Linked DNA regions of Homo sapiens: all the other regions are linked to region 1. Evidence: promoter capture Hi-C in 16 types of primary human blood cells and fetal thymus (Javierre and others, 2016). All regions are on one chromosome and are shown on one strand. The core of a region is centred on a gene start or on the middle of the fragment in contact, and the rest is flanking DNA. Distances in the headings are between cores, read along the strand shown. Region 1 holds the start of PKN2 (protein kinase N2). Region 2 has its middle 5.1 kb from the start of ODF2L. Region 3 holds the start of ZNF644 (zinc finger protein 644).

The links. The method cuts DNA at HindIII sites, captures the fragments that hold promoters and counts their contacts. A CHiCAGO score of 5 or more calls a contact.
Region 2: a fragment that was not itself captured here is called in contact with the fragment with the promoter of PKN2 in region 1 in 1 of 17 cell types (fetal thymus); the score reaches 7.0 in fetal thymus.
Region 3: a contact is called between a fragment that was not itself captured here and the fragment with the promoter of PKN2 in region 1, in 2 of 17 cell types (non-activated CD4 T cells and naive CD4 T cells). The highest score is 6.9, in non-activated CD4 T cells.

Annotation. Positions count from the first base shown.
Region 1 is chr1:88,682,664-88,685,530 of GRCh38, forward strand. It overlaps PKN2 (protein kinase N2), which reads left to right and starts at 1,610. Exons shown (of 22, transcript NM_006256.4): 1 at 1,610-1,965. The coding sequence starts at 1,918. PKN2-AS1 (PKN2 antisense RNA 1) reads right to left here and starts at 2,541. Exons shown (of 4, transcript NR_110682.1): 1 at 2,501-2,541. RefSeq lists enhancers at 1,445-1,774, 1,805-1,884. The HindIII fragment of the contact is 6,383 bases long and covers 1-2,867 here.
Region 2 is chr1:86,399,874-86,402,880 of GRCh38, forward strand. No RefSeq gene overlaps it. Among named protein-coding and RNA genes, the nearest start is that of ODF2L, 5.1 kb to the left of the region's middle. The HindIII fragment of the contact is 812 bases long and covers 1,190-2,001 here.
Region 3 is chr1:91,019,268-91,022,114 of GRCh38, forward strand. It overlaps ZNF644 (zinc finger protein 644), which reads right to left and starts at 2,768. Exons shown (of 6, transcript NM_201269.3): 1 at 2,723-2,768. RefSeq lists enhancers at 2,025-2,574, 2,575-2,847 and silencers at 2,358-2,427, 2,758-2,847. The HindIII fragment of the contact is 702 bases long and covers 1,247-1,948 here.

The DNA of each region.
Region 1 (2,867 bases), core at 360-2,859:
AGACAGTTTCACCAAGTTGGCCAGGCTGGTCTCGAACTCCCGACCTCAGATGATCGGCCAGCCTTGGCCTTCCAAAGTGCTGGGATTAAAGGCGTGAACCACTGCGCCTGGCCGGATAAGAACTCCTAATCCTTTCTGTAACTCCAAAGCCTAGGAAACCATCTGGCTTTTAGTTACCAGTAAAGGTAATCATATCCCGGCCTTTCCAAGTGTTCTTTCATGTATTTAATTATCATCTTCAACCAAGGCAATATACTAGACACATAAATAGTTGTAAGACTTGTGAAGTACACACCAGAAAAATTCTTTATCACACATATGATAAGTTAGAGTTCAGAAACTGTGGCCACAGAACTCCAGATCTTCAATACATGTTTGCTGAATTGATGTATGAGACTTGAGAAGGCAAAAGGATAGACGTTAAGTCCTGGCATCAGGCCAACAGAGTTACATGGAGCGTGTGAGAAGTACATAATGTTACACTTCCTAAGAAATATGTCAACGAATGCCCTTTCTAAGTAGCAACGTACCTAAATAACCCTTACCACTCTCTCCAGGTAGTTTTAACAAAGGTATTGTACCGCAGCTTCAAAAAATCAAAAGTTACGCGTTTACCTATCCATTCACTGCTCAGACAAAACAAAAACAAAAGCTACCTGTAGGAGACTTCGAAATTCCTTAATACCATAGTGTCATTAAAAACAAACACCTAGATTTACTTTACTTAGCTATATTTTACTAAGTAGTCAGGTTAGCTTTAATGCTTACCACGCCAAGGAAAGGTGGCTTTTTTCCTTTCCCGAGGGTAATCCCGTCCCACCTCCCCCTCCCTTAAATAAAGTTAAAACAACCCAAAAAAACCCAGCTAATTCTCAGCTCTGTACAGTTCTCCAGTACAAGCAACAGTAGTTCAACCTCAAGAAAAAGACATCTTAAAGGCCGTACATTAAAAGTTGCCAGGGATCCAGCCGCTTACATTTCATGAAAAGTACAGACCATACCCGTTTAGCTAGCTGTGCACCTTAACTGGTCGAGAAGGCGCGCTGGGGGCTGGGTTTGAGGGTGAGCAAAAGGCAAGATTATTAGTTTGGGTTGACGTGGGGGTCAAGGGGAGAGCAGAGGAATAATCTGTAAGATCTGAGTCCCGAAGCTCTTTGGGTTATGGAGGTTAGAAAAGGGCCTGTTAAAGTTAGGCCCAAGTTTCGGCAAGGTGGAACTGGGAAAAAAAAAAAAGAAAGAAAAAAAAAACGAAACCCGAAAAAACAACAGCGAGCAGGCTCCCGAGTTCTAGCGTTCACAGTGAAGCCGTTAAACGCAGCAGGAAAGTAGGCGTGTGTTTTCTTCCTCTTCCCGCCTCCCCAGAGACTCGAGCCCAGTCCTTTCCCCTCATTTTCACCCCAGCCGAGTCCAATGGCTGCCCTCGCCGCGGAGTCGGGTCGGAAGACGCCCCGCCCCCTCGCCGCGTTCGCCCTAGGGAACCCCTCCGCCCCACCTTCCCTGCCCGATGAGGGGCAGTGGCTGCCGCCGTCACGTGTGCTGGCAGCCGCCAAGTGAGGCCGCTTTTGCGACGCGGTGACAGCCAAATGGTGCGACAGGAGGAGCTGCAGCCGCGGCCGCAGCGCCCGCACGGAGAGGCTTGAGGCGGCTCCTGGCGTCGCCCAGAGGGAGCGACTAGACGAACAGTCCGGTGAGGGCGGCGAGAGGAAGCCCGCTACGAGTGCCCTAGCTCCCCGCCGCTCTCGATGAACCGGACGGAATAAGCCGCGCCTCCAGCAGGGGCTGCGCCTCCATGAATCCCTAGTTGTTTTTTTTTTTTTCTTTCTCTCCCCTCTCCTCACCCCCACCCCGAGCCCCGTCCCGCCTTCTCCCTTCGCCAGAGGCGGCCGCGTCCAGGTGCGGAGTCCATACCGGAGCGCAATGGCGTCCAACCCCGAACGGGGGGAGATTCTGCTCACGGAACTGCAGGTAAGGGCCGCGGCCCTGGTGAGAGGCGCTGGCGGAGGAGACAGGGAGAGAGCCCCGCGCGGCGTCGGGGACCGAGGAAAGCCCTGCGGCCGCCGCGCCCCTAGCCCGCTAAGTGCGGAAACTCCGGGATGTCACTCGGGAAATGCTTCCCTCGGGGAACCGCTTCCCTGGGGAGCCGGACCCTCTCCCCCGCCAAAGCCCTGGCCTGCCACCGCTTTGGTTTGATTCTGCCTACCAGAGGGGACCCCATCTCTGCAGCCCTGCTGCAGCGGGAGCCTGCTCTCGCCTGGTCCCCGGAGAGGCCGGCCCGTCGCCCCCTCCCTCGGTGTCAGAGCTACCCGCGAACGCCCCTGTTGCCCCCTCCCTTCGCGCGGCCGGGCCCCGCCCCGCCTTTCCTCCGTACACCGCTCCTTAAACTCCTTTGAATGACTCCCAAGCTGTTTTCTTGTCCCTCCCCCTCCCCTCAGACTCCGCACAAAGAGCGCCCCCATAACTTCCAGCCCCTAGACAAGTTTTTTTAAAAAACGAGTCTCACCAAATGTTTGCTTCACTTCAGCAGCCCTCTTCAGGTGACAGAGTTTCTTTCCTCTATTTTGAGGGTTATCTTTTTCTTTTCTTTTCCTTTCTTTTTTTTTTTTTAACCGAGTGATAAATACAGGGTGCCTTTCTCTGCTACCCCTGCCCAGATCCGGGAGCTCAGATGCTGATGCTTTTCAGACTTTCATTTTCCCTCTCATTTGAGCACCAGAGAAAGAGCTAATAAGTTGTTTACTAATGAGAAAGCAGTCGACTAAGGGAAAACATTGGGCACCACATGTCTGCAAAAGATGAGAGCAAAGTAGATCGCTTAGTTAAGTCATGTCGAGTAGCAATGTTATTTCCCATTTCCAGATAAATATTTG
Region 2 (3,007 bases), core at 346-2,845, 2.3 Mb before region 1:
ACCCAACCTCTCTATCACAACTCTAAAGATCCAACTCCTTCCCAATCAATGCCTTAATTTCTTACATAAGAGACCTGAGGAGTCTGTTTATTCAACTTACCTTGTAATTTAGCTCTTCACAGCATTAATACTTGATTTGGATGTGTCATCCCAGCAATTAATAAAGTTTTAAGGTAATCATAGAAGTTCTCTGGGCCTCTGAGCTTATCACATTTTTCTTTAAGCATCCTAGTACAGTCATAAATAGAAAAATCACCCCACAATCTTTGTATTCTTCATTCCTGCCATTCCCAACAAAGGTATGCCTTCAGTGACTACTTAATTCCTGAGGATTATAGGCCACTTTTAAATGGTTGTATAATTTATATTCAATAAAGTACATATGTATTAAATGTTCAGAGTATGACTTTTGCCAATTATATAATTATATGCACTCATGAAAATAATACCTAAAACAAAATTTAGAACATTTATGTCAGTCCAAAGTGTTTATTTGTATCTGTCTGTAGCTTGTCAGTTCACCAAAACTACCCTCATGCCTCTCCATCCTCCCCTAGCCCACACACAGAGAGACTACTACTTTCTAATTTATATGACTAGAGGTTAATATTGCCTATTCTTGGTGTTCATATAAATGGAATCACACAATATATATTCCTTTTTGTCTGACTTCTTTCATTCAAATAGGCATGTGTGTGTGTATATATGTATATATGTGTATATACATATATATACACACCCACATATTTGAATGAATATATATATATATATATAGCGAGAGAGAGAGATTGAGATTCATCCATGTTGTTGCATATTTTAGTAGTTTGTTCTTTTTTTTTGAGATTGAGATTCATCCATGTTGTTGCATAGTTTAGTAGTTTTTTTTTTTTTTTTTTTTTTTGGCTGAGTAGTTGATATAGTTTGCATGTTTGTCCTCTCCAAATCTCATGTTGAAATGTAATCCCCAGTGTTGGAGGTGGGGTCTGATGTTGGAAGTGTCAGATCATGGGGGCATATCCCTCATGAATGGTTTAGTACCATCCCCTTGATGATAAGTGAGTTTTGGTCTGAATTCATGTGAGACCTGTTGTTTAAAAGTGTGTTGCACCTCTCCAATCCCAACTCTTGCTGCTGCTCTCATCATGTGATGTGGTTGCTCCCCTTAACCTTCTTGTAAGCCATAATTATAAGCTTCTTGAAGCCCTCACAGAACCCCAGCAGATGTTGGTGCAATGCTTGTACAGCCTATAGAACTATGAGCCAATTAAACCTCTTTTCTTTATAAATTACCCAGCCTCAGGTATTTCTTTATAGCAACGTAAGAACAGCCTACTATATAGTAGTATTTCATTGTGTAAATATACCACAATTTGCTTATTAGTGCTCCTGTTGATAGATATTTAGGTTGTTGGCAGCTTCTAGTTATTAATGAATAAGGCTGCTATAAGCATTCTTTAAAACGCATTTTATTAACATATGCTTTCATTTTTCTTAGCTAGGAGTGGAATTACTGGTTATAGGGTATAAGTATGTTTAACTTTACCAGCAGTGTATGATGCTTCCTGTTGCTTCACATCCTTGCCAACATTTAGTACAGCAGTATTTTTTATTTTAACTGTTCTAGGGGGTGTGAGGTGGCAGCTCATTATGGATTTCAATTTGTGGTTTTTTTTGGTAATGAATGATGTTTAGCACCTTTCAGTTATTGACCGTACATCATTTATGAAGTGTTGTTCAAGTCTTTTACCCATTTTTTTGGATTGTTGTTTTATTGTTGATTTTCAGGAGTTGTTTACATATTCTGAAAAACGATTTGTCAGATATATGTAACTAATACTTTCCTCCTATTTCTCATATATTTTCTTAATGGTATCTTTTGAAGAGCAGAAAATTTTTATTTGAAACATCTAACTTACCAGCATTTTTCTTTTATAGTTTAATGTACCGCAACTCCACATTTGTGAAGTCGCTATGTTTTCTTCTAGAAGTTTTATTATTTGAAGCTTTTATAAGTAAGTATATGACCTATCTTGAATTAAGTTTTTTAGGAATGATGTAAGGGGTCAAGATTCACTTTGTTTTATACAGATACCCAATTTGGTACCACCATTTATTTAAAAGACTTTCTCTTCCCCATTGAATCAATTTAGTGCTTTTGTTGAAAATGATTAGACCATGTGTGTGTGTGTTTATTTCTGGACAATCCATTCTATTCTAATAATTTATAATCAAAACATTTGCCTACATGACATTCTCTTGATTACTGTAGTTTTATATAAGTCTTAAAATTGGCTAGACTCCATTTACTACAAAGACGGTTGTCCACAGGGCAAGTCAGACAAGAATTGAGCAAAGTCTTGGGGCAACAGAACAACTTTGCTTTACAAGATAGAGTATCAGCGCATGTCTTAGTTTGGAGTGCTGTAACAAAAATATAGACTGGGTGGCTTAAACAACAGAAATTTGAGAAGACCAAGATCAAGGTGCCAGCCAATTTGGTTCCTGGTGAGGGCCCTCTTCTTGATTTGCAGAAGGATGCCTTCTTGTCGTACTCCCACATGGTAGAGAGAGGAGGGAAGCAAGCTCTTTCATGTCTCTCCCTTTTATAAATAATATCTTTGCTTTGTATAGAATTATAAATTACAAACTATTATTTTGCTTAATCCTTTTAACCAACATGTGAGTCGGACAGGCTGGAGGATATTAGCTCCCATTTTACAGGCAGAGTGAAAACAAGCTGGGATAGAAGACCTGGGATTCCATACTCACAACTGCTTTTTTCCATGACTTTGTGATACATCATTTAAAAGTAATCTGATTTCACAGTGTTTTACAGTGTAAGAGTAACATCTATAGTATCTATTCCTGGCAGGCTAACTGTGGAGCCAACCAACCTAATTGATGGCCTCATAAGCTGGCATATTTTAAGGCATTCTTATACCTCTAACTCAATTTCCAGCTATATTTGAGGGCCCCATAAACCAAAATGTAGAAAGCTGTTCTGAAA
Region 3 (2,847 bases), core at 348-2,847, 2.3 Mb after region 1:
GTTTATCCAACCAAAACACTATTACAAAATGAAAGACACCATTATTTTCAGCATTGATCTCATTTCTTTTCCTACATAATAACTGGCAATAACAGCAGTTATTTCAAACTTTCAAAGAAATTTATCAAGTCCCTGGTTGTTGTTTTTTAATTTTTCAATTTCTGGGTCAAGACTGCATTTGGAAAACCTTAAAATTCAAAAGCAACATTGCTCTGAAACTATCTGATATTTCTGTATTTTGTACCTGATTTTGTTTCACTGAAAGTCACTTTAAAAACCAAGTTAACCACAGAATATGAAAGTTTTTTTGTTTTTTTGTTTTGAGATGTAGTCTTGCTGTGTCACCAGACTGGAGTGCAGTGCCACGATCTCAGCTCTCTGCAACCTCTGCCTTCCGGGTTCAAGTGATTCTCCTGCCTCAGCCTCCCGAGTAGGTGGGACTATAGGCACCACCACGCCCAGGAAATTTTTACATTTTTAGTAGAGACGGGGTTTCACCATGTTAGCCAGGATGGTCTCGATCTCTTGACCTCGTGATCTGCTCGCCTCAGCCTCCCAAAGTGCTGGGATTACAGGCGTGAGCCACCGTGCCAGGCCAATATGAAAGTTTTTAACTTATTGTCACAGAAGTTCTCATGAACCTAACAATATTTAATTAACAAGTATTCTCAATAACATTCCCTTGTTTTTTTAACCATTAGTTGTAGATATTCACCTTCTCATCCCAGCAATATGACAAATACAAACAGCAATGGGTAGAGGCTGAAAGGCAATTTTCCATTATGCCACTAACTTAATCATCTCTGGTCCTCAATATATTGTAAAAGAGGAGGGTAAGAGCAGTTGTTCTTTGATATTGCTTCCACTGTAAAACTTTATGATCCAGGAATACATTTGCTAATGTTAATGCATCTCCTATTCATTAATACAAGACTGTTCTGTATTAGAAGCTAAAAAAAGAGAAAATATATATCTGAAAAGAACAAGGAAATGAAAGTTAACTAATGTTGAAAAATTCAAATTTCAGTTTGAACACAGAGATCTACACAGTGATCTAATGTGTTTAAATATCCCTCCAACCAAGGAATTCTGTTAATTGCCAACACAAAACATTAGGTGTTTCAAAATTTTGTACTTCATGAGTTAATACCAACACAAAGTATGATATAATTGCAGTATAACTTTAATTTGTTAGAAATTGTAAGACTTTTAAAAGCAATACATACCACTGCATTAATACTAATCAAGCTTTATGCTTCACCAATTAAAATGTCTAAGCTAGATTATAGCCTTATTATAAAAACGAGGTTTTTCTTAGCAAGCCTACCAAAATGCAATATTACTGCCATCAAGTTCCCTAGATACTTACACATGCAACTGAAGGCAAACAGCCAGGTTTCCTTTCTTTGAGAAACTTTAGTTGTCTATTTTTTGAAATGTTTTCCTTCTCATGGGACCAAAAAATGTTTACAACTAAAGCAAACTACTGCAGGGAGGGAATACACAATTAAAACAAATCTACCATCCAGATGCAACAAGCGTGGAATTAGGACTGGACAGGATAGTCGGCGGTGTTGTGATACTTCTGTTGAAATTATTAACAAGACAAGACCATCATTCGCCCCCAATTATGTTTATCCCCTCGTTGAGTTTGATGATCACACAAAATCTGAAGTCTAAATATAAACGTTTTTATATTCAAAGTCAATATTCAAGAAAACTTTTCCACTAATGTTGCTAAACCATAGATGGATCCCAACAAGAGTTGTCTGTAGAAGTCTCGTAACAAGTAACCTTTAGCTCCACCACCTAAGTTTCCAATCACTGAGAAGAGTCTGGGACAACTCATCTTCAGGTTCACGGGAGAAGTGGAGCACACCTGCTTTCCTCTGGCAGAGTAACTTCCCAGGGACACAAAGGCCAGAGAATCAGACCTGGAGAGGCAAAAAGCTTTAGCTGGACACCCACCAAGCCCCTGGCAACCCAAACACTTCGAGCGATTTACCTCTTGCTGTTACTTCCCAGGCACCTAGCCGCATAAGATCTTGCAGGACGGGGGGAGGGGAGGGCTATGCGGTCCTGTCCCAAGTAAGGGGAGGGGTGTAGACAGTTAATGCCAGAGCCAGCGTTTCTGGCCACAACCGAGCAGCCTCAACGAGAGGGGTTGGTGACTGCTCTCGGCCCGCCCCGTTACTCAGTGCATTGCAATGGCGACCGCCAGGCTCCCCAAGCCGCCTGATCTCGGCCCCTTCCCCCTACTGCTCACTGGCTGCTCGGCTTCATGTGACTAAACAAAACCCCCAAGTCTAGTGCCCAGCTCAGCCCCTTTGTGTCCGCTACCGGATCCTCCGACGCCGCAGCGGAAAGCCCCCCCCCCATCCCCCCGCCGAGTCCCGCCCCGCGGCGGCGGCCGCCGCTCACCTCAGGCTCCGTGGCCCCCAGCGACCGCCGCGGCCGCCGCCTCCCCGAACCCGGGGCCCGGGCTCCTTGTGTAGCACCAACTCCGCCTCCTCGGCCGCCGCCGCCATCTTAGCCTGTGCGGCAAAATGCGTCCTTTTGGATGGCTGGGACCCAGCCTAGGGCGTAGCTCCCCGGGCCCGAGAGCCGGAGGCCGGGTCCCCCAAGTTCTTCCGCCACCCTCAGTCCCGCCGCTGCCACAGCCCAGAGGCCCGAAACCCACTCGGGTCCCAGCGAATCTGACCAAATAACCCCTGAAACTCACAGTTTGGTGCCGTGTGCGTCAAACCGGGGCGACGTTGGGAGCACGCGGCGTCCCCGCGTCACACGCCGCTCTGTACGCTACTCGGCTCCAGCGGCCCCCCTCCGCTCCCCGCTTTTCGCCTCCAG